Linked DNA regions of Homo sapiens: regions 2, 3, 4, 5, 6 and 7 are each linked to region 1. The links are contacts of gene promoters, found by promoter capture Hi-C in blood cells and fetal thymus (Javierre and others, 2016). All regions are on one chromosome and are shown on one strand. Each heading gives the region's core, a stretch centred on a gene start or on the middle of the fragment in contact. The rest is flanking DNA. Distances are from core to core; before and after follow the strand shown. Region 1 holds the start of HDLBP (high density lipoprotein binding protein). Region 2 overlaps ATG4B (autophagy related 4B cysteine peptidase). Region 3 overlaps ATG4B (autophagy related 4B cysteine peptidase). Region 4 holds the start of MAB21L4 (mab-21 like 4). Region 5 overlaps ING5 (inhibitor of growth family member 5). Region 6 overlaps D2HGDH (D-2-hydroxyglutarate dehydrogenase). Region 7 holds the start of DTYMK (deoxythymidylate kinase).

Evidence for each region. The method cuts DNA at HindIII sites, captures the fragments that hold promoters and counts their contacts. A CHiCAGO score of 5 or more calls a contact.
Region 2: a fragment that was not itself captured here is called in contact with the fragment with the promoter of HDLBP in region 1 in 6 of 17 cell types (neutrophils, naive B cells, erythroblasts and 3 more); the score reaches 8.5 in neutrophils.
Region 3: a fragment that was not itself captured here is called in contact with the fragment with the promoter of HDLBP in region 1 in 2 of 17 cell types (megakaryocytes and erythroblasts); the score reaches 5.6 in megakaryocytes.
Region 4: a contact is called between the fragment with the promoter of MAB21L4 here and the fragment with the promoter of HDLBP in region 1, in 1 of 17 cell types (naive CD8 T cells). The highest score is 5.1, in naive CD8 T cells.
Region 5: a fragment that was not itself captured here is called in contact with the fragment with the promoter of HDLBP in region 1 in 1 of 17 cell types (neutrophils); the score reaches 8.5 in neutrophils.
Region 6: a fragment that was not itself captured here is called in contact with the fragment with the promoter of HDLBP in region 1 in 1 of 17 cell types (neutrophils); the score reaches 5.8 in neutrophils.
Region 7: a contact is called between a fragment that was not itself captured here and the fragment with the promoter of HDLBP in region 1, in 1 of 17 cell types (neutrophils). The highest score is 8.1, in neutrophils.

What each region holds. Positions count from the first base shown.
Region 1 is chr2:241,313,220-241,316,978 of GRCh38, forward strand. It overlaps HDLBP (high density lipoprotein binding protein), which reads right to left and starts at 2,453. Exons shown (of 28, transcript NM_005336.6): 1 at 2,351-2,453. It overlaps SEPTIN2 (septin 2), which reads left to right and starts at 2,706. Exons shown (of 13, transcript NM_004404.5): 1 at 2,706-2,763. RefSeq lists enhancers at 1,429-1,478, 2,359-2,408, 2,429-2,528, 2,454-3,178, 3,169-3,228 and 1 more and silencers at 1,709-2,088, 2,629-2,978. The HindIII fragment of the contact is 7,846 bases long and covers 1,109-3,759 here.
Region 2 is chr2:241,639,559-241,643,485 of GRCh38, forward strand. The region is part of intron 1 of ATG4B (autophagy related 4B cysteine peptidase); the gene reads left to right. Among named protein-coding and RNA genes, the nearest start is that of ATG4B, 3.8 kb to the left of the region's middle. The HindIII fragment of the contact is 477 bases long and covers 2,053-2,529 here.
Region 3 is chr2:241,658,369-241,662,366 of GRCh38, forward strand. ATG4B (autophagy related 4B cysteine peptidase) reads left to right here. Exons shown (of 13, transcript NM_013325.5): 7 at 740-819. Among named protein-coding and RNA genes, the nearest start is that of ATG4B, 23 kb to the left of the region's middle. RefSeq lists enhancers at 2,256-2,757, 2,758-3,257. The HindIII fragment of the contact is 2,528 bases long and covers 742-3,269 here.
Region 4 is chr2:240,894,509-240,898,523 of GRCh38, forward strand. It overlaps MAB21L4 (mab-21 like 4), which reads right to left and starts at 1,648. Exons shown (of 5, transcript NM_001085437.3): 1 at 976-1,648. The coding sequence starts at 1,489. RefSeq lists enhancers at 276-911, 2,184-2,819. The HindIII fragment of the contact is 9,523 bases long and covers 1-4,015 here.
Region 5 is chr2:241,718,324-241,721,905 of GRCh38, forward strand. The region is part of intron 5 of ING5 (inhibitor of growth family member 5); the gene reads left to right. Among named protein-coding and RNA genes, the nearest start is that of D2HGDH, 15 kb to the right of the region's middle. The HindIII fragment of the contact is 3,552 bases long and covers 1-3,203 here.
Region 6 is chr2:241,745,429-241,749,006 of GRCh38, forward strand. The region is part of intron 6 of D2HGDH (D-2-hydroxyglutarate dehydrogenase); the gene reads left to right. Among named protein-coding and RNA genes, the nearest start is that of D2HGDH, 13 kb to the left of the region's middle. The HindIII fragment of the contact is 2,476 bases long and covers 105-2,580 here.
Region 7 is chr2:241,683,736-241,687,775 of GRCh38, forward strand. It overlaps DTYMK (deoxythymidylate kinase), which reads right to left and starts at 3,080. Exons shown (of 5, transcript NM_012145.4): 1 at 2,919-3,080; 2 at 2,034-2,142. The coding sequence starts at 3,048. It also overlaps a transcript of ING5 not described here. RefSeq lists silencers at 2,670-2,979, 3,027-3,289, 3,040-3,569. The HindIII fragment of the contact is 5,811 bases long and covers 1-4,040 here.

The DNA of each region.
Region 1 (3,759 bases), core at 1,203-3,702:
CAAATAAGTCTCTCACACTAGACCACAAGCTGCCTGAGGAAAAGAAAAGTCTATATCCTCTTTTTTTGTTGGCTTTTTGAGACACAGTCTCACTCTGTCGCCCAGGCTAGAGTGCAGTGCTACAATCTCGGCTCACTGCAACCTCCGCCTCCTGGGTTCAAGCGATTCTCATGCCTCAGCCTCTTGAGCAGCTGGGATTACAGGCGCGCGCCACCATGCCAGGCTAATTTTTGTATTTTTAGTAGAGACAGGGTTTCACCATGTTGGTCAGGCTGGTCTCGAACTCCTGACCTCAAGTGTCCACCCGCCTCGACCTCCCAAAGTGCTGGGATTACAAGCGTGAGCCACTGCACCTGGTCGAAAAGACTATATCCTCTCAACCTTTGTATCTGCAGAACCCTTAACCCTACACAGCAATTTCCAGCAAATATTTTTTTGAATTGAAATGAAGAAGTGAGGTCATGAGGCTGAAGTCAGACAACTGGAAGGCCAAAACAACAAAACCTGGAAAAATACGTATTTACTCAAGAAGAAATTCTCCCACCAGGCCACTGAGAAGTTAGCTTTGCCCACTGGAGAGGACACTGTAACAGGGATTCAAGTAAGCCTAGTGGCGCTGAGGGACGTGATATAGGTCAACTATATCTTTGAGGTGCTCTCCTTACACTCAATGCACTTTTACCCGAATGACGTTAATTTGACTCCTGATAAGATGAGCTAAGTCCCTTCAACAGTGCTTGGCACCAAGCAAAACTAATAGCAGTAACAGGAAAGTTTAATCCTCATGATGAATTATTTAATGGGGTTTCAAACGCTGTCCCTGAGACTTGAGGCAGTAGGCTCCAGCTCCATTTTCCCCAAGTCTAAAACTTGATAGGTTGATGTTTCAGACTCAGAGATTCGGTAATCCAAATGATGGAAATAATTCTTACCCAAACACCTTTTCAACTATTTTTAAATACTGTTGCCAAGCATCCTAATATCATGTGTACTTAATGAATTTAGCCTAGGGATACTTTTACATGTCAAAAAATCAAAATATAAACCTAAGCACTACGTTTCATCCAGTGTTTCAGCATCCCAGATTTGCTTCCCTAAATGAACATTAAGCTTATTATGCAATGTGCCGCTACCAGGAGCCTTAGACAAAACCCTAATTGTGACTTAACCTATCTTAATAGGGTTTTAAGGAAGTTAGCTGCTAAGAAAGTGACTATCCTTAAGCAGACACCAAATAAATGTGAAGTCATTGATTGAGGGCTTAGGGTATAGGTAGCTATGAATCTGAGGACATAAAACGCAAAACTGAGGGGCAAATCGTCATGTTCCTTAAGATTACGACTCATCCACATTCCTTCAGCCGTTTAATTTCACCATAATAGGCACTGTTTAATAAGCAAAGCCCAAGTCGACTTCCTTCGATTTTACATGGCGTCCAAACACCATGTCAAGTCTGACCCTCTCATTTTTTAAGTCGAATGGAGAGGATATGTAGCAGCTAGCCTTGAGCACCTAACCACTTTTCAAAGGAGCTACGCACAAAAATACCCTAGCAACATGCCACGGTGTCAGAAAGGCTCAGGTTCCCAACACCATGCGGGTCAGCCATTAGGAACTCAGGAAGTGTTTCCTCTAAGCGGGGGAAACCTAGGAAGGCTTCCTGAACGAGGGGTATTTGCGCCAAGCCTTGACGTGAGTCTCGAACAGTTGCAGTGCCTCCAGGCCACGCGGGAGGGAGGAAAGGACACCCCGGGCCGGGGCACAACCCGCGGGCCGGAGCCGCCCGCGCCCATCCCGCTCAGGCCGCAGCCAGGCACGGCACCCTCCCGTCCCCGAGCCACGTCGCTGCTCGTGGGCTCGCGGAGCACTCCCCAGGTCTCACCTCGGGCCCCACACCAGAAGGAGAAAGCTAGGGGCCGCGCCAGCTCCGCCCTCCCCCGCGGGGCGGCGGGCCCCAGCCCGGGCACAGGAAGGCCACGTCCCCGGGGAGGGACGCCCGACTCGATGGTCTGCGCAGGGCCCGTCGGCCCCACGTGACGTGCGCGCAGCCAATCCCAGAGAGGCCCCCCGATCATCGAGACGGCGGCGGTGGTGGGCTAGACGAGTTTCGCGCGGCCGCTCGCCGTCCCCCGCCCAGTCGTACTCGGCGCCCCAGCTCGGTGCTGCCGCCATCTTCTTGGAGGACAGGAGGAGAGGCGAAGGCTCCCCCTCCCCGTGATCGCTCCGCACTCCCGCCACCACCTGCCCTCCCGCGACCGCCTCTCTCCTCCTCAGTGGGCACTTGTCTCCTTCTAACAAACGGCCTTCCCCCCACTCCAGTTACCCACCGCAAGGCGAAGATTCTCATTACCTGTTCCACTCTTATAAGCATAAGAAAACCGAGCTCATAAGGTAGGAACTGTGGCGAAACAGGGACAAGCCGCCATCTTGGTAAAGGAGAAGAGGCTACGCTTGACCTCCCCCCCCACCCCCAGCCTCTATATGGCCAACTGCCGTGGGAGGAGCACGGCGCTTGCGCAGAGGCGGACAACGCGGACGACTCTGGGCTTGCGCACTCGGAAGCCGGCCGCATGGGGGAGGGGAAGAAGGCCAGGTCGCACTGAGCCAGGAAGCAGTTGGCAAAGGGGCGGGGTGACGCGGTGACGCAATCCGCCTGCGCGCTGGGCGGGGCGGGGCGGGCTGGGGCGGGCTGTGAGCGGACCGCGAGCGCTGGGCGGGTCCGCGGCGCGGTCGGTCGGCGCCTGTTCTCGGGCTGTTTGGCGGGTGAGTGTCTCGCCGGTGTACCCCGCACAAGTTGTGGGCCGGCCCTCCCGAGGAGCTGCGGGGGACGCGCCGCTCGTCCCATACTCTCGGGCGGTGGTCGGCTGGCTCTGGGGTGCCGGCGGGGCGGTGTGGGGGAGGGGCGGCCGAGCCCAGGCTCTTCGGCACTTATCGTGGGCTCCCCCGTCCCGGGCGGTCCTAGTGCCGGCGACAGTGGCTCCGACACGGGCAGGCCCGGGCGCGGGAGTGGGGATTCCGGTGACCCCTTGTTGACCCTGCGGGAATTCCTCTGCACTGTCGTCGGTGCTGGGCCTCGGGGCGTCGAGTGCGGTCGAGGTCGGGAGGTTTGGTGCTTGGAGGGAGGATACAGGTTTAGGCCCGACAAACACTTAGAGCTTGTGTGGCCATCTTGTCTTTCTAACGGTGCCATTTCCTCCCTGAGGCGTGGAGGACTGGCCAGCCCCCAAACCTCCAAGCCCATCGGCTGGATGCCGTGGATAAGCGAGGGGAGAGCGACTAGGCCCTGTCTGCGGGTACCTTCGGCGAGGAGAGGCGACGAAGGTCTGCACCAGCGAGGCACGGACAGGCAGCAGGGGGTAGGGTATAGGGTTGGAGGCCGCCGAGTTGGCCCGGGGATGAGGAGCAAACCTGTGGCTTCCGTGGTCTCAGTGGAGTCCCAACTGTGACCTGGCCTACTGGCCCAGACAAACCTGGCTTGCTTTTTTACCTTTTCGGTCTAATTCTTGTCAGTGCCACCAGACCTTGTCCTCTCTCCACGGAAACACACGAACCAACTACACTGAACTTCTTGTAGTTCAAACTTCTGCACCTTTGGCCATTGCCCAAACTCTTAAATCTGGCTACTTCCCACCTTAACTGCCTTCTCCTTACCTAGTCTGTGCTTGTGGGATTCCGCCCAAATTAGATTTCCTCCAGACAGGCTTAGGTGTTTACCTGATGTTCCAGATGGTATTTGTCCAGTGGACTATTGGTGCTGTG
Region 2 (3,927 bases), core at 1,041-3,540, 330 kb after region 1:
ATGAGACTACACTTAACACTGACAATCGAAGGGTGAGGAGGGTGGAGAATAGTTTTATTGAGTGATGAAACACCCCTCAGCAGAGAGGGGACTCAAGGGTGGTCTTCCACCCAAAGTCGGGTGGTCTCCCTTGGTGTGGCTGGGTCCAGGGCTTTTATAGGCTCAGAATGGGGAGTGTGTGCTGATTTGTCTGTGAGTATGCAAAAAAGGTTAAAACAAAGTCACTACTCAAAGGTGGGCACAACAGTGTAATAAACCAATTAGAGAAAAGTAGGTATATGTAAAATAGGTGAAGGGTGGGGATTAATTAGAGGAAAGCGCACCAAACAGGAAGAGAGGTTCGCAATCCAGTCTGTGGATTTATCCGAGACTCGTCGCTTGGCTTTCAGGCTTTAAACTGTGGCTTGAAGGTTGGGTTTCACTGGTGACCCACCCCTCTCTGCCTAGGATTTGTCTGCCTCCTGCCTCTATCATTTCGATACCTTGAGGCTGGAGTATCATATGAGAGACTTGGCTAAGGTCAAAAACACGGTTCAGTGTCGATCATATGACCTAAAATGTGAAAATCATCATGTTCAAGTTGGGAGAACAGTTATGTTGTTACATGGCGATACTTTATTTTATCTTTTATTTTCCCTTGACAACTGTGTTGACATGGTGATACTTTAATAGGACACTGGATGTTGCTGCATGTGGGATCAGAGTAGAAAAGGTGTTTGCATTTAAAGGTCTCTGTTTATGCTGATAAAAACGTATATGATGTTTGTAGGATATCATGGGGAATTTTCCTTCTGACTTGATGCTGTATTTCCTTTCAGAGATGATTAATGATCTGCCCTCCTTTGATCTCTAGAGTTCTTGAAGATTCTGCCTTCCTTGACCATGTGTAATACAGTTTCTGTTCTGATAGTCATTAATTCAATACACTGTTTGTTACTGACTGTCAGATATGTGTTAGGCATTGTTCTAGACACTAGGACTAGAGAAGTAACAACATAGATGAAAACCATTGCCCTGGGGTAGCTAACGTTCTAGACATGAGACCAGCATTAGCAGCGAAGTGCGTGGCTCCTGGGGGATGGTGATTTGGGCCAAGGATGAGGAGGATTGGAATTGTAGCCAGGATGGCCAGGAAGGGTCTCACTCTGAAGGTTTAAGTTTTGACGAAGACTTAAAGCAGTGTAGGAGGAAGGGCAGGTAGCAAGAGCCTGGTGTGGCTCAGGTGCAGCGGGTGGCGGTGGGAGAAGCAGGAGCTGAGGATAGAAAGGTGACTTAGGCTCAGTGTAGTGGGGCCTTGCCAGCTCATAGTGAGGACTCGGTGTTTATTCTGAACAGGATGGCAGCTCATAGTGAGGACTCAGTGTTTATTCTGAACAGGATGGCAGCCGTTTGGAAGGTTTCATTCTAGAGGAGGAGTCACATGATAGACTGTGTTCAACAGGCTTGCTCTGGCATCTCTTTTGAGAATGTACTGCAGAGGGGCAAGGGCAGAGGCAGCGAGACCAGCTAAGAGACTGTTGAACAAGCCAGCAAGGAGATGCCAGTGGATTAGCTCAGGGTGGGTAAGAGGTTGACTTCTGCATGTGTTTTGGAGGTTGAGACAATAGAATTTGTTTGTAGATTGGAAGTTGGGAGAGGGATGGGTAGAGAGGGAGGAGTTAAAGATGGCCCCATAGTGTATGGCCTGAGCTAAGCAACTCAGATGGAGGGGGGCGGGCGTGGTGGCTCACGCCTGTAATCCCAGCACTTTGAGAGGCCGAGGTGGGCGGATCACAAGGTCAGGAGATCGAGACCATCCTGGCTAACACGGTGAAACCCCGTCGCTACTAAAAATACAAAAAATTAGCCGGGCATAGTGGCGGGCGCCTGTGATCCCAGCTACGCAGGAGGCTGAGGCAGGAGAATGGCGTGAACCCGGGAGGCGGAGCTTGCAGTGAGCCAAGACTGCGCCACTGCACTCCAGCCTGGGCGACAGAGCGAGACTCTGTCTCAAAAAAAAAAAAAAAAAGAAACTCAGATGGGGAAGACTTGGGGAGGTCCTGTCTGGTGGGAAGCTTTCTGTTGCGAGTTTGGATTTATGTGTGTTGAATGTGAGGTGGATGTTAGACATCCTTGTAGAGCAGTGTCCAGTGGGCTTTTGGGTCTACAGGTTTGGAGCTAAAAGAATAAGCCTGGGCTGGAGATAGACTGGAGGTCACATCAGATGAGGTCACCCAGGGTGTGAATGTGGGTGGGAAAGAAAAGAGGCCAAAGGCCTCTGCGGGTGTGGAGAGGTCCAGGAGGTGGCAGGCAGACCACAGTGTGGCTGTGTTCTCCACCAGTCCCTAGCACTGTCCCTAAAAGCATGCTCCCCATTCAGACGACTGGCAGGTGCCAGCACTTAAATAGCCACACTGCCCATTCCTTGAGGACAGAGCTGGTGTCTTGTGCTTGCATTTCTAGTGCATCACTTGTGTCTGGCATGTGGTTGGTAATAAAAAAAAAACAGAACTTGAATTAATAATAACCTACACATTCCCCTACTATCAAAGCTTTCAGTTTGTAGAGTTTAACATAAATCCAGTATGTTAGCATAACATGTAATGAATGCAGAGGCTGCTGGGGAGTGGTTTTTTTTTTTTTCTTGAGATGGAGTCTTGCTCTGTTTCCCAGGCTGGAGTGCGGTGGGCGCGATCTAGGGGAGTGGGTTTTAATGTGCGCAATCTGCCCAGTGTGTGCACTGAAACAGTGTTTTCTAGCTTTCTGATGTAGCTAAATTTGGAGTTCCTTTCTCTCTTTCTCTGTTTTCATTCAGGACTGAACTACTAGCATTCTCATGTAAACTCTTGGAGATTTAAAAAAAAGTAGTAATCATATGCAAACTGTTATCTTAAACCTAAGAGCTTTCTAAAGGAAAAGAAGAACCTTTGTTGAATTTATAAAATATAAATCTTTTGGAAAATAACTTCTAAGTGTTTTAGGAAGGTTTCTTCGAAATGAAGTGGTTTACAGTAAGCTCTTAAATTTACTCGTTTTTTTTTGTAGTCCTCTCTGGTTGAATGAAGTGTAATTGGTACTAAATGGAGAGAAGTTGGTTAAATTCATTGAGTACAATTCCCTACATTTCTGCCTGTCAGATTAGTAGTACTAAGTCACATGTTTTTTCTGATGGAATTACTATATTATTAAAATGCCATCTGCCCTCTTCTGCTTGTGATCGCAGAAGTCCCAGGGAAGAGGGCGTGGAAAATCAAGTGTCTGGGATCCAGCCGACCAAATGGGAGAACTGCTTCTAAGGGGGACTCTTTCTTAAGGTGTACAGCACCTCTCCGTCCTTTTTTTTTTTTTTTTTTTTTTTTTTAAGACGGAGTCTCACTGTCGCCCAGACTGGCTGGAGTGCAGTGGCTCTATCTCAGCTCACTGCAGCCTTCGCCTCCTGGGTTCAAGAGATTCTCCTGCCTCAGCCTCCCGAGTAGCTGGGATTACAGGTGTGCACCACCATGCCTGGCTAACTTTTTTATATTTTTAGTAGAGATGGGGTTTCACCATGTTGGCCAGGCTGTTCTCGAACTTCTGACCTCAAGTGATCTGCCCGCCTCGGCCTCCCAAAGTGCTGGGATTACAGGTGAACCACCACACCCAACCTACTTCTTCATCTTGTTCCTCCTGCGTGTCATCTTTTTTTGAGGCAGGGTCTCACTTCATCGCTCAGACTGGAGTATGGTGTTGCGGCCTCAGCTCATTGCAGCCTTGACCTCCTGGGCTCAAGTGATCTTCTTGCCTCACATTCCTCAGTAGCTAAGACTACAGATGTCCACGCCTAGCTATTTTTTTTTTTTTTTTTTTTTTAAGAGAGACAGGGTCTCCCTGTATTGCCCAGGCTGGTCTCAAACTCCTGGGCTCAAGTGATCCTCCCATCTTGGCTTCTTAAAGTGCTGGGATTACAGG
Region 3 (3,998 bases), core at 756-3,255, 340 kb after region 1:
TGGGAGGGGCTCTGTGTGGTCACCCCAGTCCCCTGCTCCACCCCCACCCAGCTCCCCTCCACAGGTCTTGCATTCTGTCCCCGGGAGCACCAGGTCTTTGCTGCCTCAGGGCCTTTTCTATTGTTTTACCTTTTGTTGAGGTCCTCTGACCCCACCTCCGCCAGACCTGAGATGAGATCAGAGTCGTGTTAGACTTTTGGCTGCAGAATCTGCCCTTCCCTCAGAAGGGGAAATCCAAGGCCATGGTTCCTCCTCACTGGCGTGCACAGTCGTGCTTCCCACTAAGCTGCAGATTTCTCTATAAGGACTCAGATTCCTTGGTTGTCAGCTCAGCGTGTTTGGTGGAGGGGAGAGCAGAGCAGAGCGTGAAGGTGCTGGGAGGCCTGCCTCAAAGTTGGCAAAACCCACAGCGTCTCAGAGCTGCGTTCATGTTCTAGTTCCTGCCTCTGTGCCAGTGAGACCAGAAAACCAGGCCACTCAAAAGCCTCTTGCGTGTGCTCTCTATGAATGGAGGCTGGGGCAAGGGCAGGACCCCTGGGCCTCAGGCGAGAAGAAGCAGATTTACCCTCAGCTTTCTTCCTGTCTGTGGCATTGGCTGTGCCCCGGATTTTAGGAGCCTTGGCCCTTCTCATCCGAGAAGCACCTCTAACGCGAACCCTCCTTCGCGCAGCTATAGCTGCAAAGATGAACCGTCTTTGAATTGTACAAAAGCTTATGGTCATTCTCCTACTCTCTGTAGGAAGCTTGCTGTCTTCGATACGTGGAGCTCCTTGGCGGTCCACATTGCAATGGACAACACTGTTGTGATGGAGGAAATCAGTAAGTGGCTCAGAGTTTCCATGGACAAGAAAGTTGAAATCACGGGCAACATACACACTTCCTCGCCTGAGTCCCCACGGGAGCCTCGGCGAGTGTTGTCAGTCGCCCCATGCCGTGCAGGTGCTCCGTGGGGCCTGTGCGCCAAGCCAGATGCACGGTGGCCTCGCTCTCCTATCCCGGCGGTCATACCAAGAGAGGAGAGCCCAGGCTGTCTGGAGGCCGCGACTTGGTATCTCACGTCGTGTTTTGTGTCTTGGTTACAAATCGTTTATGAAGGCCCTGCTGTGCTTAGGCGCCCTCGTGTGGGAATTCTGGTGAAGTTATTTTGCGTGCCTTGATGTGCGACAGAGAGATGTAGCAACCATCTCTAGCTGCACCATCTCGAGCAAAGGCACGTCGTGAAGGCAGAGCTCTTTTCAGCTTTCTGGAAGAAAGGTCTGCTGCAACCCTGAAGGAACCTGGGCGTGGCAACATTTACATCTAGGAGGAAAACTGTGGCTCAGTTTTAACAAATGGGCTCATTGAGTGAGTTCCAAATTCATGTTTCACCTTCCATGATGTAGCCAAGCTGAGAACTCTTAAAAATGCCTCATTGCCTTTTTCACTCAGGGCCACCTTTTTCCCAAGGAACTTCTCAAAACTCCCTCAATTCCAATTTTATTGAAGTTCTACATGTAGGCTATTGCCTTGAATCCAATTTTCCATAAGAAAGAGCTCATTTAGGCCGGGCGCGGTGGCTCATGCCTGTAATCCCAGCACCTTGGGAGGCCGAGGTGGGTGGATCATGAGGTCAGGAGTTCAAGACCAGCCTGGCCAACATGGTGAAACCCCGTCTCTACTAAAAATACAGAAACTAGCTGGGCATGGTGGCACGCGCCTATAGTCCCAGCTACTCGGGAGGCTGAGGCAGAAGAATCGCTTGAACCTGGGAGGCGGAGGTTGCAGTGAGCCTTGATCACGCCACTGCACTCCAGCCTGGCCACAGAGCGAGAATCCGTCCCCCGCCCCCCAAAAAAAAGACCTCATTCAGAGCCACAGCCGTAACTGCGCACAGATTCACAGTGGGAGTGGGTCCTGCCCTGTGACTGTGGGTGTGCCAGGTCACCACACAGGTGTGTGCTGGGTCACAGACACGCCCCTTCCCTGCCTCTCCATTCTGTTTCTTCATCGTCTGGCCATCCTCGGGGGCATTGTGACACAGCGGAGGGAGTGAGGCAGGACTTTATAAGGGAGAGTGAGGCTGGCTTCTGCAGCATTGAGAGCTTTGCCACAGCAGGCTCTCCTTCCAGGATTCTGTTCCTCAGAGACTTGAACTTGGGATCATAACCAAAGGGTGTTTGTTTCTTCCATCTGCCTTTTTCCTCCATTCTGTTTCTTGAAATTTTTATAAAACATTGGAAACACAGGAAGAGTACAAAGAAAGAGAAAAATTATTGATTTTACCACTCAGAAATAACTCATATGAGCATTTTGACATTCTTACTCTCAGTATTTCTCCTGTGCTTTTCAAAAACTTACATAGTTTCCTAAGTATTTTCTCCTGGCCATGAGTGACAGCATTGTAATTATTAACTGGCTACACAATATACTATTATACCTTAGTTCCCTGTTCACTGCCCCATCCTCCCTCCCGTGTTTGGGGAAATCACTTACCCCCTCGTTCCGCACGCGTGCTCAGGATCTCACCAAGTCACACCTCAGTCCCTGGCCTCGGATTAGGGAGGCTGTTGCTGGGTGCAGTGGCCAGGAAGGCGCAAGGGTCAGGGCTTCCTAGAACCTCCGTCCCTCTGGGTGCAGGTAGCACTGGTGGGAGTGTTGGGGGCAGCTTGTCTGTGTGGACTCCAGCTCCGTCCCTTCGGGAGTCTCAGGGCTGCCCAAAGCAGTGCTGCTGAAACGTGGCTTGTCAGAGTGAGAGTGGAGTCAGGTCCTGGAAGAGCTTGAATCTGCATTTCCCAGCCCCTGGGGATGGTGGCTCCCGGGAGGATGTGGAGGCTGCCTGGTCTGACTGGCTTCGTCTCACTGCGTCAGCTGCCTGAAAGGACACTGTTCCTCACAGGAGCATGTGGAAGGTGCCTGATGCCCCCATTTAGGAAGAAAGGCATCCACATCCAGCCAGCAAAGGCACTGGCATTGATGCACAAGGCTTGGGTTTCTGGGTTCCTGAGTGTGGCGTGGTGTTGTGAGGAGGACATCGGGGTCGTTCTGAATGACCCCTACCAAAAGCCCCAGGAGGGAGTAGTGGGGGGAGGGCAGGAAGCAGGCTGCTTTTTTCAGTCGTGCTGCTAAGAGTGCGCAAGGGAGGACGTCTGAGGAAGAAGTCCGCAAAGCCGAAGCTAGAGAAACAGACGTGTCCTTGGCTAAGCAAGGACTTTTCTTCTAGTTTCTCGGAACTGCTTGTGGAAGGAGCAGTTAGATAGGAGAAGACTGATGCCATTCAGAAATTCCACTAAAGCTTCTTCCTGCAGCGAAAGAGCTGCCTGACGGTGTTCCCACTCAGATTTTAGGTGAAGCCTGTGGGGTAAGGGGAGACCTTACTGCCTACAGTGTCCCCATCCACCAACCCATCCCCCCCGCAACTCATCCTTCTGTCCACCCCCAGTCAAAGGCCAGCCAGGACATCCTTAGCATGCTCTTCTTGTCCTTAACGTTGATGGGCTTAGACCTTTCTAACGACAGTAGACAGAATGTCACTGAATGTAGGGAGGAAATACAGATTGGAAAACGTGTCAGTCTGGCAGTGAGGACAAATGACTCCAATGAAAGAAAAGTAAATACCAGAGCAAGCACAGTCAGAAACAGAGTGGGGAGGAGAATCACAATAGCTGGAACTCAACTCTCTGAGAGGCAGTGCAGCCAAATAGAGGCAGCTGAGAGCAGAGTATGTGGATTAGAACTTTTCGGGAGAGTTGGCCACTGAAGGAGTAGGAGAAAATTCCCCTGAGTTGGTGAGAGTTGAGTCTTTAGAGCTAAAGACCCCCAAATTTTTTTATCAGAAGTACTTAAACATACATGTTCCTGATAATATTTCCAAATTGCAGAAGTAAAGGGAAACTTCTCTAAACATCCAAATAATAGTATCACTACTAAGCTGCTTTGAAGAAAGGCAGTCTCAACTGGCCTGGGCATCTCATCTTTGTGCCATACCAAATGCTACTGGAAAATGTTTAGAATTCTGAGAA
Region 4 (4,015 bases), core at 398-2,897, 420 kb before region 1:
AGGCCCCAAAGGTGGGCCTGGTGCTGTGGCTCACACCTGTAATCCCAGCACTTTGAGAGGCCCAGGTGGGCGGATCATCTGAAGTCAGAAGTTCGAGACCAGCCTGGCCAACATGGTGAAACCCTGTCTCTACTAAAAATACAAAAATTAGCTAGGCGTGGTAGCCCATGCCTGTAATCCCAGCTACTCAGGATTCTGAGGCAGGAGAATCGCTTGAACCCAGGAGGCGGAGTGAGCCAAGATCGTGCCATTGCACTCCAGCCTGGGTGACAGAGTGAGACTCAGTCTCACAAACAAACAAACAAAAGGCCCCAGAGGAGAGACTGAGGCCAGCCCCTGGTCCACGCAGAAGCCCAGCCTCAGAGCCCACTTGGGGCTCAAGACACCAATAGACAACTCAGCCATAAGCTGATAAGACACGGGCACACACCTGCACACGCATTCACACCCCTGCACTCACGCGCACGCAGGCAGGCACACACACACCCCTCCCACCTGGTGCAACATCATCAGACACTGGAAGTGGGCACGGGATGGCCTCGGGGAGCCTCGAGGTCACAGGCTGTGACTGGCAAGAGAGCCGCCTGCCCAGAGCCGTGTGAGGGACCCTCCTGCAAGGCCACCAGTGAAGCAGCTGCCCCAGACTCCAGCCACTGGACGACTGGCAGCCGTGGAACCCCCGTGCAAACACACACGACACGGAACACGTCATCTGTCTTGTTACAGGCATTTGGAGCTGGAAGACCTAAGTGAGGTCTCCCGACTTCTGTGCCCCAACACACTGTTCACACTTGCACAGTGTCACACACGTGCACACATGCCTGTGCGTGCAGTCACACACAGAAGACAGTCGCCACCCTGTGTGCACGTACATGGCAATCACACACATGTGCACTCACACACTTGCACACAGACACCCACACAGCAGCCCCTCGGTACACGCAGATACGCGTGCAGAGTGGGCTGTGCCTGTACCTGGTGCGATGAGACTGTGGTGCTTGCAGTGTACGATGGCTGCTACCAGCAGGTCCTTGAGGACACACAGGACCTTGCTGGGCACAATGTGTCCACGGCACTTGGCGTCACCCTCCGAGGAGGCAGTGAAGGTATCCTCGGTGGTCCACCGCTCCAGGCCAGCCCCTTCCCTGGGCACACCCAGGTGGCATAATTCAAGGCCATCCTCCGGCTGGGTGGCCTCTGGTTCCTCAATCAGTAGAGCCTCGGCATCCACCCACAGGGGCACCTCCATGTCCATTGGGTCCTCAGAGGAGCGCAGGGCGAACTGGAAGGCCTCCAGGCCACGGGAGTAGTCCACGATGAAGCGGGGGTCCAGGGCATGCACGCGCTCCAGCACCGTGAGCAGCACGTTCTCTGCGCGCTGGAAGTCCTGGGCACGCGGCGCCTCCCGGGACCGGATGGCCTGCAGGTAGTGGTGCCACAGGGGCACCTGCACGGCCATGGCTGAGGTGGGGAGAGCAGGGGCAGGCATCCCTTCAACAGTGGCAGGTGAGGGCCAGTGGCCCCTGAGGAGGACTCCGCAGGCCAGCTGTGCAGATGGGCTGTGAGGAGGCACCTGCCCAGGTGAGCAGCAGGTCTGCAGGTGGGGCCTCAGCTCCCACACAGCAGAATTCCAGAGTGACAGCACAGTGTGGCAGGTGAAATAGCTGAACTATTTAAGGCCTTTGAAGTGGGGGTGAGTCAGTCCCCAGCAATTGGGAATGTCACAGGGGCCATGCAGGGCAGGCGGGGGCTGGGTTTGGTTACCACCCTCCTCCCTCCCTTCAGAAGAGCTCTCTCATCTTAGGCCCAAGGCACGGCCCCTGTCCCAGCCAGGCTTGGGGTCCCTGGAGAAATATTGCCGCTGGACTGTGCCGTCCCTGGGATGGGAGCCTCTGTGTGTTGCTGATGGGCCTCCTTCCACCCTCCTCCCCACAGCCCAGGGGCCGGGTATCTGGATCAGGCCCCCCTGCCCCAGCCTCCCTGCCAGGTTGGAGGGAACACAAGGCACCCCGTGGCTCAGTGAGGAAGGGGAGGCAGGGCGGTGGCTGCCCAGACCCCGCTGTGGGGGAGCCCCCGACTCTCTAAGGCTGCCTGGAAGGCTGGGAACCTGGAGGCTGCGTCTCTGCAATGTTCCCCTCAGACACCTGTGCCCGGCTTACAGGCTGCAGTCCTGGCATGGCTCCTGCCTCTGCCCCAGCTGTGCATCCAGCCATCTGGGCCCTGGACCCCTGGGCTACCAGTCCCCACCCCACCCCACCCCACCCTGCCCAGCCTCCAACCTGAGAGGAGCTGGCACCCACCTAGCCTGGGAGCTGGAGCTCGTCTGGTTCTGGAGAAAAGCAGTCTCCGTGGCTCCACCTCACCCAGGTGGAGAAACTCGCCCCACCATCCCCCTCCAGCACCTGCACCAGGTACCCTGCCAGCCCCGCCCCCCTCCCCTGCTCAGGGCCGTGCAAGTCCCAACCAGCAGGGAGCCGCCCCATCGACCCTTGGCCCTGCCAGCTGGCCGAGTGCATCGGGTGCTCAGCCACAGGGGTGTCTGCAAACAGTGAACATGGAGATGGCCCCACAGGGGCGTCGTGGAGATGCTGCCCCTGTAGCCACCGCACGTGGGCCTCTCACCCCCCGGGGAGCTGCATCTGAGTCAGAGCTGTGGGCAGAACCAGGATCCCAGGAGGGGTGGGGCAGGGGGCAACAGCCACTCACTTCCTGGTGCTTGGAAGCCCCTATGAGGGGCTGCAGCCCAGTGAGCGGGTCTCTGCTTCCATGCCTCCCAGGACAGGGAGCTCACCACCTCACAGGGTAGCCCACGGTCAAGCGAGAGACAGATATCCCTCCTCCAAGCTGGCCCACTCCTGTTCCCTGGAGTTGCTTAGAGCACGTGTCCCCCTCCCCGAGGGCAGCCATTCAGGTTCAAGGCCCCATTTGTCCTGGGCCCTCACCCACGGCCTGCCTAGGTCCCCACACACAGCCGTGTGCCACACTCCTCCATCTCCACAGGACTCTGGCCTGGGGGAGGTGGACGCTGCTGCAGGGCAGCTGGGGTCCTACCCCTCACCCTCGGCCGCAGTGGCCCAGGGAGCTCATCTGCCTGTTCTGGGCCTTGGCTTCAACATCTGTGATTTGATGACACCTTCAGTGTCCCAGCTCCTCCTTCCCAGGAACCTCCCGGTGTTCTGAATTCGCCCAGGAGACCCCCAACCACACCCCAATCTACCCAAAGTGCCCAGGGGCTCTGAGCCATGGGAGGGGCTCGGCTTCTCAGCCCCCAAGCTGCTCCCTCCAGTGGCCACAGAGCAGGGCCCTTCTCCCTCGGGAGCGGCCCCCAGGCTTTGCATCCTCCTTTGCCCCTAAAGCCCCCTCTCCACTGCTGTCAACACCAAGAGCACAAGACCATGTCCCCCCTTTCCTCTCTTCAGCAGGGGATTCCACCTGGCTGACACCCTGTCCTGTCCTTCGCTGGCTCTGGCCTCCTGGCTCCCACCAGTTCCTGAGCTGAATCCAGCTGGTTGCCCCAAGGGACCCCACTCTCTCCACCTGTGCCCCAGCTGAGGTCAGAGCCTCTGATGGGCCAGGCCCCATCCTTGCCCCTTGGCCCTTCTGGCAGGTGGTGAATGACATGGTGAGCTCCCTATGGCTGGAACGGTGTCACACTCCTCAGTGTACCCTAGAGCCAGGCACGATGCCAGGCACACAGGAGCATGTGGAGTACACCAGGGAACTGTGGACAAGCAAAGGTCCCCGGGAAGCTGGACCTGTGGGAGAGAGAGGAGAGCCGCTGCTGACGGAGGGGATGCGGGCACCCGCCCTGGACGGCTGGGCAGCTTTGACCACAAAGGGGCCAAGTGCTCCAGAGGCCTTCAGGCAGCCACTAGCCACAGTGCACCCAGGACTCCAACTCTGACCCCAGGAGGGTAGCGTGGTGAGGGTGGGGAGGGTCAGAGAAACCAGACGTGTCCTGGGGCCTTGGCAACTCAAGAAGGGGTTCCTTGGCACCTGTGGCAACCGCAAATGC
Region 5 (3,582 bases), core at 178-2,677, 400 kb after region 1:
CCTCCCTCCCTCCCTCACTTCCTTCCTCCTTCCCTCCCTCCCTCCCTTCCTCCCTCCCTCCCTTCCTTCCTTCCTTCCTTCTTTTCTCTTTCTGTCTTTTTTTTTTTTTTTTTGAGACGGTCTTGCTTGGTCACCCAGGCTGGAGTGCACTGGTACAATCTTGGCTCACTGCAAGCTCCGCCTCCCAAGTTCAAGCGATTCTCTGCCTCAGCCTCCCAAGTAGCTGGAATTACAGGCACGTGCCACCATGACTGGCTAATTTTGTATTTTTAGTATAGACAGGGTTTCACCGTGTTATGCAGGCTGGTCTCGAACTCCTGGCCTCAGGTGGATCTGCCTGTTTTTGGCCTCCCGATGTGCTGGGATTACAGGCGTGAGCTGCTGTGCCCGGCCCTAAGTTAGTTTTAATCTCCTTTAATACATTTTTCATTTAAGAGATTGTAGGGCTGGGTGCTTTGGCTCATGCCTGTAATCTCAGCACTTTGGAAGGCTGAGGTGGGAGGGTCACTTGAGTAGCCGGGATCACAGGCATGTGCCACCATTCCTTGGTAACCAGCTTTTAAAAAAACATAATCAGTCCTATTTCCCTGCTGAGGGTACATGTCTCATGATTTATTAGCTGTCTGACTTTAGATATAAAGGAAGCGTGGAGAGGGAAATTTCTGTTCTCCCCAGGAGGTGTTCGTTCTGTTTTAGTCCAGGCCAATAGGGCTGGGGGCCTGGGGCGGGGCAGGGTCTCAGCTTCAGCTCCACCGAGGCCCCTTGAGGACCTTGAGGTTTCCTCTCTCGCCTCCTGCCCCAGCGGCTTCCACAGTTGGTAGAAGTGCGGGGGAGGAGACCAGCGGTGCCCGAGCAGACCCCTTGCTCGAGAACTCCGAGGTTGCAGGGATTTTCCCTCTGCTTTTAGTTGCTCTGTGCAGCCTCTGGACTATAAATGTCGGTGGGGACGCGGCCGCCATGTGTGGCTGTGTGGGCTCAGCGTGGCCCAGTGGCCAGCCCAGCCCTCACTCAGTGCATGAGGCAGGCGGACGCCGCCCCCAACCCCCCAACACCCCCCACTCTGGCTGCAGGTCATCTAGCTCTTGTTGCTCCACAGCTCCCCGACATCTTTGAGAATGTGGTTTTTGTGACTTGCTGGGTTTTGTGTTTTCTAACTCAGTGGCAACAGCGTTCTGAGTCTTCCTGCTCCTTCCTGCTCGGAACCTGAAGGCCCTGTCCCGACCGTGCCTTTTCTGCGTGAAAGTGGGACTCCTCCTGGTCTCTTCCTCACCCAGTGCTGTTTCTCAAGGGTATGCTAGGCATAAGGAATGCAGGCACTGGGGGTCCTCGTGGGGGTGAAGGAGACTCCAGCTCCCTGTTGGGGTCGGGGCTTCCTCCCTGAGGGCTCTGCCCAGCTTCAGAGACCTCAGGAACAGCCAGCACCTCTGCAAACACAGGAAGATCCACTGTGGCCTCATGGCTTTTCCTGTCCTGACAGTGCGCTGACCAGCACTGTTTAGTAGCAATGCGGAGCCTGGGAGCTCAGCGCTGCCTGCCGTGCAGGTCCCAGTAGTGACAGATGAGAAGGGTGATCACCGATGGCGACAGTTGCGGGGCCCTGCGGCTCTGGATCTAGCTTGTGTGTGAATCTCTTTCTTCTCTGTGCCCCCAAGTGGCAGTGCTGCTCCTGTCCCATTGCAAGACGTCGAGACAGGCTGGTAAGGCCAGCTCTGAAGCTGGGCTCTGACGTCCAAGGCGCCAAGGAGGCCCCTTCCAGAGGGACAGGAGGATGGTGCAGGTGGGCAGACGGGTCATCCTGAGGACCAGTCGGTTGGACCCAAAGCCTGGCCTGCCGGGGCGGGAGTGTGCACTCGGGTGCCTCCAAGGGCATCATCCTGGGTGTGTGCAGGAGCCCGCCTGCCCCTGGGCTCTGGAGTTCTGTGGTGCGCGTCCCTGACCCATCAGCACAGTGGGTATTCACGCCCCTCGTGGTCACGCTGTGGTGCCAGGCCGCTCTGCCTCAAGGCAGGTCCTGTTCCCTGCTGGGGACCCAGGCGCACGCACCATCCTGTCCCTGTGGACTGCCCTCTTCAGGCCTGTTCCCCACGTGCCCGGGGCTCTTCCTGGAATGCAGTGTTCCTAGACTGCACAGATGCTCCGTGTCTCGTCTGAGATCCCGTGACCTGAGGCTGCCCCCTGCACTGTTGCTGCCCTGTGGCCTTGCTCTGGCGAGGCAGAACCTGTGTGTGTGGATGAAGGGCAGTGTCACCTGTAGCACCTGGAATCCCGGGGCTTGGACAGGCAGCCAGCCCCCTGCTAGGAGCCACGTGGAGTGCTGGGAAGCCATCGGGGCCGGGCGCGGAAGGGCTCGCTGGCACCGTCTGGCGAGGGGTGCCTGCCACACCCTGGGGAGTTAGCACAGAGGGTGCCTCTTGTGGCAGTGGTGCTGAAGGGAGTCAGCAGCCGCTGACAGTTGGGGTCACCCTGGCCTGTGCAAGGGACAGGGCTCCCCATGGCCTCCTGGTTGCCTCCCTCAGGGCTGATAGCAGCACTCCCTGGCCACACGCCATGGCGCTCCCTCAGGCGAGACTGAGAGGCCAGTGAGGCCTGCACGGTGGCCTCAGCTTCTGGGGTGCCCTTGCTGGGCGGTCCCCTCAGGCCCCCGGCCCTCTCCCACAGCCATCAAATCTGGCCAGCGCCCTCGAACCTGGTGATGCTGAGACACAGGTCAAGTGGCAGCTCAAGATGTCAGGTCGGGCTTTGTGGACAGAATTGGACTCGGCGCAGAAGAGGAGGGCGTCAGCGTTTCGGGGACGGTTGGCAGCAGAGGGTGCTGCCCTGCTCTCCGCGGGTGAGAGGTGACTCGAGGAGACCGCAGGAGCCCCTTGGAGGTGAAGCCACAGGTGGCATCCCGGAATCGGCAGGAGGCTGAGACGTAGACCCTTGCGTGCTGCTGTCAGAGGAGAGACCCGAAGACTACTTGAGACTGTTGCTTGAAAGCAGTGTCGGCAGCACCTGGACCTGGACTTGTGACGCTGATGGATTTCAGCTCTAAAGAGAAACCCCTGTCTATTCCCAGACAGAGAGAAAGAGCAGAAGAGCAGATTACCTGCAAAGGACAGACTTAGGTGGGCGCCCCTGTGCCAGAGGGCAGCGGGGAGGCCGGGTGCATGCTGAGCCCGAGTGTGTGTGTATGTGTACAGGCAATTGCAAAGGCGTAGAAAAGCTTTAGACAGGTATCCAAGGAAAAGCTGAGTGTTGATTCCCTCTGGGACCCAGACTTCTGCTCCTTGGCTTTCCCTGATCGTGACTGTTTTTCTCACGGCCACGTTCCTCCTGCTAACCTGCTGTGTTTACATACCAACTAGATATTCGTGGGTTGGAGGGTGGGATAGGGAAGATACTTTTTCTTTCTGTACTAATGGGAATACACTGTCTATAGTACCTGCAGCTTGTAAGTTTATTTGAAAAATACTGAAATATAAAAGCGTAAATTTCCCCCTAAGTGCATCCCTTTCAAACAGGAAAGTCTCCACCTGAGGTCTGTGGTCCTGGTGGGACGGCCATGGTGCTACAGGTGGCAGGCTTGGAGGGAGGCATAGA
Region 6 (3,578 bases), core at 93-2,592, 430 kb after region 1:
ATTTCCTCCTCAGGAGTTCAGAAGTCGCACAGCCCGGCAGTCTTCGCGCGGGAGGTGGCGGGTCTAGCTCACCAACTCCCAGTTCGGTGTCTTGAGCTGCCAGAAGCTTGGGCAGCCCTGGAGGATGCTGAGACTCCGCATGCTTGTTCCTTCAGCCACTTACATCTTCTTGTTGTGATGTGTGTTCCGTATTTTAAGCAATCTCACCAGGATTATTATTTTATGGCCACTTTCTCTGCCCTCCACTCTCTTGTGTCCGATCTTCTGTCTGGGATTATGTTGCAAACATATCCTCGTTCATTTCCTGCAGTAAAGGTCTCCTGGTGACCACTTCTTCACTTCTGGCGTGTCTGAAAATACCTTTATTTCATCCTCATTCTTGAAGGCTCTTTTCCACAGGCGCATGGCTTCAGGCTGTTGTTTGTTTTCTTTTATCCCGGTGGAAACGCTGACCCGCTGTCCTCTGGCCTCCTCGCTGTTGGGAACTTTGCTGTCGGTAGCTGCTGCTGTGAAGGGATTCTGCCTCTCTCCTGGCCCCCCTTGGGCCACTTAAAGATCATTCTTTCTGATCTTCTAAAGTTTTCAGTGTGTGGTGTGTGTGTGTACGTTCTTTTTCATCTCCTTGGAATTACTGAATTTCTTAAACCTGTGGCTTGGTATCTTTTACCAGTTCTAGAAATTCTTAGCCATTATTGCTTCAGATATTGTCTGTGTTTTCCTCTCCTTTTGGGACTGTGATTCAGGATAGAATGTCTCAGTCCGTCTTCTGTGTCTCTTAATCTCCCCTCCATATTGTCATCATCGTGTCTCTCTGTGCTGCATTCTGTGTGATTTCTTCTCATCTGTCTTCCAGTTCACGAATGCCCTCTTCTGCTGTGTTTTATTTGCTGCTGAACCCCTCCATGAGTGGTTCCCTCCGTCCATTGAGTTTTACATTTTGATTATGAAAGTTTTTATTTCTAAAAGTTTTGTTATTTTTGTCAAATCTGCAATGTTACTTTTTATAGTTTTCTATTCTAGGTATTCTCAAGCTCACCATTTGTGTCTTTAAACATAGTTTGACGTCTATAATCCCAGCACTTTGGGAGGCCAAGGCGGGTGGGTCATTTGAGGTCAGGAGTTTGAGACCAGTCTGGCCAACATGATGAAACCCTGTCTCTACTAAAAGTACAAAAATTAGGCTGGGCACAGTAGTTCACACCTGTAATCCCAGCACTTTGGGAGGCTGAGGCAGGTGGATCACGAGGTCAGGAGTTTGAGACCAGCCTGGTCAACAAGGTGAAACCCCATCTCTACTAAAAATACAAAAATTAGCCGGGCATGGTGGTGGACGCCTGTAATCCCAGCTACTTGGGAGGCTGAGGCAGGAGAATTGCTTCAGACCATAAGGCAGAGGTTACAGTGGGCTGAGATCATGCCACTGCACTCCAGCCTGGGTGACAGAGCAAGACTCCATCTCAAAAAAAAAAAAAAAAACTTTGAATAATTTTTTGTGATGTTTTATAATCAGGCAATTCCATTTTTTCAAGTCTGTGTAGTCTGTGAAAGTTTTTTTTAGAGACAAGGTCTCACTCTGTTGCCCAAGCTGAAGTGCAGTGGTGTGATCATAGCCCCTGGGTTCAAGCCATCCTCTTGAGTAGCTGGGATTACAGGTGCACACCACCATGCCTAGGTAATTAAAAAAAATTTTGTATGTAGAAACAGGGTCTCATGTAACTCCTGGGCTAAACGATCCTCCCACTGTGGCCTCCTAAAGTGCGGGGGTTATAGGTGTGAGCCTGAGCCGCTGCACCCAGCCTGTGTGGTCTGTTTTTAGTGTCTGTTGTTTCTGCTGGTTCATGCTCCTGGCTCCTTAGTTTCTTGTGTGCTTGGCTGTCTGTGGCAGTGTGCAGCTCATTATGTTTGAAGAATTATTTGTAGGGGTTCCTAGATGCCAAAGACGAGGTACCTTCCTCCAGAGAGGGTTTGCTTTTGCTTTTGCTTTTGCTAGGTGTCTTTGGGTCTGTTCAGCCTGAGAGTGACCAAGTTCACAGGATGAAATTCTGTGAAACTCCCAGGTAGCAAGTCAGTGTAGGGCTGTGTCGGGCTGATCCATGGTCATGATTTATCAGGAGAGTGTTTTTTTTTTTTTTTACATTATTCTTCTGTATTTTTTTGAGAGACAAGGTCTCACTCTGTCATCCAGGCTGGAGTGCAGTGGTGCAATCGTGGCTCACTGCAGCCTTGAACTCCTGCACTGAAGGGATCCTCCTGCCTCCCTAGTAGCTGGGACCAGGTGTGTACCACCATACCTGGCTACATTTTTAAAATTGTTTTATAGAGACAGGGTCTCCCATGATGCCCAGGCTGGTCTTGAACTCCTGAGCTCAAACAATTCTCCTGCCTTGGCCTCCCAAAGTGCTGGGGCTACAGGCATGAGCACCTGCGTCGGGCTCCATTCTGCTTTTTTCTCATTCTGTTCAGCCATTTCCCCTGCAGTCTTCGGGGCAAGTTGGTTGGGACAGGCTTGCTTCTGGCCCTGACTTCTAAGATGTGGCCCTGTGGGGGTCTCCTGGATTCCTCACTCTGGGTAGGCTGGGAAGCTTGAGGCCAAACCTGCTAGCGGGGCAAGGGCTGTCGGCCAACAGCGTTGACTTGGTGCTACTCAGCCCCCAGGTCAGGCTCTTCCCTCGCTCTTGATGCTCTTCAGCGTTTTTTTGTTTTTGTTTTTGAGACAGAGTCTCACTCTTGTCACCAAGGCTGGAGTGCAGTGGCACAATCTTGGCTCACTGAAACCTCCGCCTCCTGGTTCAAGCGATTCTCCTGCCTCAGCCTCCCAAGTAGCTGGGATTACAGGCGCCCACCATCACGCCCAGCTAATTTTTGTATTTTTAGTAGAGACAGGGTTTTGCCATGTTGGCCAGGCTGGTCTGTGACTCCTGACCTCAAGTGATCTGCCCGCCTCGGCCTCCCAAAGTGCTGGGATTACAGGTGTGAGCCACTGTGCCCGGCCTCTTCAGCGGTTTCTTTGGTGTTTTTTGGCCCAGCGTTTGTGGTGTTTTCACTGGGCACTGGGTCACGTGGCCTAGCCCATTGCTGCTGGGTGGAGGCCCCTTCTCCTGGATCTGCCCCAATCAGGCCTTGCCCGCTTCACTGGTGCCCCTCCCACCATGGCTGCCACTGTCCTCCCACAGCCAACCCAGCCATCAGTTCTCATTGCCCCTCTCGCCCATTGCCTCCGGCACAAGCCTGGCCTGTGATGCTGCCCCCACACCGCCTCCTCCCCGCCCTCCACCTTCAGCCCCTGGTGGGGCTCCTCACCACCTGACCCCGGAACGGCTGGGGCAGCCTTGACTGCTTCTGCCGACTTACTCTCTGGGCGGCAGTGCCATCTGGATCGGTGGTTCCTCTTCATCCAGGTTTTCTGTGTTCTGCTCTGATCCCACTCCAACTGCAGTCACCTGTGTGCCGCCCGCCTGTGGTCCTGGGAGCCCGAGGCCAGCCCGGCTGCCGCATCCTGCTCTTCGCACTCCAGGTCTCAGACAGGAGTCACTCGCCTCTTCGTGCCACGCCCACGTCTAAGCCGGGTGGAACAGGCC
Region 7 (4,040 bases), core at 1,541-4,040, 370 kb after region 1:
CAAGGGACTATTAATTAGGGCAAAAAAGACATGAACTATTGGTCGGGCATGGTGGCTCATGCCTGTAATCCCAGCACTGTGGGAGGCCGACGTGGGAGGATCACTTGAGGTCAGGAGTTCAAGACCACCCTGGCCAACATGGTGAAACCCTGTCTCTACTAAAACATAAAAATTAGCTGTGCATGGTCGTACGCGCCTGTAATCCCAGCTACTCAGGAGGCTGAGGCAGGAGAAATGCTTGAACCCGGGAGGCGGCGGTTGCAGTGAGCCGAGACTGAGCCACTGCACTCCAACCTGAGCAACACAACGAGACTCTTGTCTCAAAAAAAACCAAAACAAAACAACAAAAAAAAACTATCAAGCCACAGTTAGACATAGAGGAAACTTAAATATCTATTAGGGAAACAAGTAACCTGTAGGAGAATAGATGGACACAAGAGACGTAGCCCTGGGTACCTGGGATAAGATTATTATCTAAAAAGTAAAATCAGGATTATTCTTCATTTTAAATTGGGCATATACGTGTTTCATCACTTTTCTACAAAGCCACAAAAAGCAAAATCAGAAGAACAATTGCCTCCATAAATTCTAGATGTGTTAAAAAGATTATTAAAAATGGTCTCATTTTCATTTAAGACTTGGAGTGGGGACAGCCTTTCCAAGCAAGACACAAAGCTAAGCCGGAGGAGAGTAATGCAGTGTTTCATGTAACACGGATGATGAGGAACCACTGAAGATTCACCAGCAGGGAACTGGCTACACGTACCGTGGTTCTAGAGACAATGCGACGACAATTAAAGAGAATGAGAAGGGCAGAGTTAGGGGATCTGTAAGTGCAGAAATCTGTAAGGCAGAGTTAGAAAGAAAGCTGCCAAATAATTTGTATGGTATGACCTCATTTATGTTAAAAAACAAAATTCTAACTATAGTAGTTTCTACATATGTATATAAATGTAAATAAAAACATTGAAAGAACACACATCAACATTAAGTGTTGAATGAAGAGGAAACCTACTACAATGATGTAAAACAAAAAAAGGTGGTAGGAGAGTTCATATAAACTCAGTTACTAATGTATCAATATTGGTTATCAATTTTAACAAATGTAACATAACACAGCACATAAATAATGGGGAAGGGGGGAAGGCAGGGGTAGTATGTAGGGAGCGCTCTACATACTCTACTTTTTGATCAGTTTTTCTATATACCTAAAGCTATCTTTAAAACATTAAGTCTATGAGGCCAGGGGTTTGAGACCAGCCTGGGCGTGATATGGTGAGACCTTGACTCTACATTAAAAAAAAAAAAAAAAATTAGCCGGGCTTGGTAGCATGCCCCTATGGCCCTAAGCTACTCAGGATGCTGAGGTGGGAGGACTGCTTGAGCCTAGGAAGTTGAGGCTGCAGTGAGCCATGATCGGGTGCCACTGCACTCCAGCCTGGGCCACAGAGCAATACCTTGTCTTAAAAATAAAAAAAAAAGGGCCAGGTACGGTGGCTCACACCTGCGTAATCCCAGAACTTTGGGAGGCCGAGGCGAGTGGATCACAAGGTCAAGAGAGACCATCCTGGCCAACATGGTGAAACCCTGTCTCTACTAAAAATACAAAAATTAAATTTAAAAATAAAGTAAATTAAAATTGCAAAAATTAGCTGAGCATGCTGGGGCGCGCCTGTAGTCCCAGCTACTCGGGAGGCTGACGCAGGAGAATCGCTTGAACCTGGGAGGCGGAGGTTGCAGTGAGCCGAGATCACACCTCTGCCTGGCGACAGAGCGGAACTCCGTCTAAAAAAACCCGAAAAACTGAAGTCTATTAGTTATGGGGTGTGGGGAGCAGGAGGACGAAACAGCATTCATTAGCGCCCTTTGGGAACTAGGGCGCTTCACCACCTCTGCCCACAGGACTGCTAAACAGAAGAACATCAGGCCCAGCACTACTGTCACTGTCATTCAGAATCGAGTGCTGCGTTCACTGAATCTCAGGAGGAAGGAAAGTGGCAAGGGCAGAGGGAGCAGTGTGCAATGGTTTTTACACTTGTTCCCAGCGATTTGCAGAAAAAAGCAGGTGCACCGAGTGATCCTCCACGTCACTTTTCTTTTGCAAGTAGGAACTCAGAAGTTTGCCGATTTCAGTTGATCTTTCTAGAAAAAAAGAGAAACACACAAAATGCAAGTGAGATCAGGCTTTCCCTCTATATTACAATATAGTTTGGACTGAATTTCTCCCGGACTCAAGTCTCACGTTGAATTTTACTTTACTAAATCTCTAGACAGGCTTGGATCTTCTGCGGAAGCCAAAGGAATTTCTCTGAGCAATAACAGCAATCTGCAAACAAGCTGGGATGAAAAATGCTTTAGGAAAAAAGAACTCGGGTAGAAAGTAGAGACTTCAAAGAAAGCATTTATAAAATTTGTGGACTGGGTGGCCAAAGATTAAGGTCAATGCTTCACTTGAAAACTTTTAAATATATGCTATAAAACCCCTGAAAGCGCGAACAGCCATCAAACAAAACACAACACCAGAAAAACCCACAAAAACGAGACATGGATTACAAAAGAGCTGGAGGAGACTTTTGGGGGAGACACCACGGTTTCGCGCGGGTTTACACGTCAGTCATCACCATACCCCGCACTTAAAGACACGCAGCGTGGACCGGGCGCGGTGGCGCGCGCCTATGTTCCCGGCTACCCGGGAGGCTGAGGCGGGAGGATCGCTTGAGCCCGGGAGGTCCAGGCTGCCGTGGGCCGAGATGGCGCCACTGCACTCCAGCCTGGGCGACACAGGGAAAGCCCGTCTTTCAAAATAAAAACCGCACAGTTCACAGCACGCCAGCCGCAGACAACGAAGCGGAGCAAAGAGCCCCTGGGAAGGCAGAGGCACCGAAGGCCGCGGCGCACCCCCCGCCGCGCGCACCCACCCGGGAACCGGAGCAGTTCGGCGCGGTGGCCCGCGGCGCACAGCGCTTCCACCAGCTTGCGGCTCTGCGTGCTCTTCCCGGCGCGGTCCACGCCCTCCAGCACTATGAGAGCCCCGCGCCGGGCCGCCATGACTGTCCACCGCCCGCCGCTGGCGTCTCCACGCAGCCTTCCGGAGCTCCCATTGGCCGGCGTCAACAGCGCGCGCCGTGATTAGCTAGTATTTCCCGGCCTCGGCCAAATTCGAAGGGATTGGCCGGGGCCGGGGCGAGGACGACGCGCGGTGGGACCGACACCCGCGCCTGCGCCCTGGGCCGCGCCGCCACTGGAGCCGTGTCCTGGGCTTCCGGGGCGGAAACTGGGGCCCCGTGTCCCGTGCGGGCCTCCGTCCTCGGGCGAGCAGGGCCCTTCGCTCCGGGAGGGGAGGTGACGCGGCGCGGGCTGGACGGCCGGAGACGCGGGGTCAGGGCGCGGACGAGGGGAGCGCAGGGTCGGAGGGGCTCCCGGACGCTGCCCGCCCAGCGTCGGCTCTCGTTGGCCCCTGGCTGCGCGCAGCGGGCCCGACTCTCAGGGCCCTGCGGTGCCCGCTGCCAGCGTGAGGGCTCCGGTCACGCGGCGCGCGAGACGAACGAGCGAGATGCTTCCCGAAGCGCGGGGCCCAGTGCAGGGGCTCAGCCGGGGCTCCTCCCAAAGCTCACCTGGAGCCCAGCACGACTGCGTTCTGGAAACGCTGTGTTTGACAGCAGGGGCAGGATGGGGGGCTGTGTAGACGCTGGCCACGTGGCAATTGTAGGAGAACCATGGGATCGATAAATGTTCACTGTTGTCCCTGAAGCGCAAAACTGCAGGGCTCTGGAAAGTCCGTGTGTGTGTTTTTGTTGTTTTTGTTTGTTTGAGACAGAGTCTCGCTCTGTCACCCAGGCTGGAGTGCGGTGGCGCGATCTCTGCTCACTGCAACCTCCGCCTCCCGGGTTCAAGCGATTCTCCTGCCTCAGCCTCCCGAGTAGCTGGGACTGCAGGCGGCCGCCACGACGCCCGGCTAATTTTTTGTATTTTTAGTAGAGACGGGGTTTCACCGTGTTAGCCAGGATGGTCTTGATCTGACCTCGTGATCTGCCCGCCTC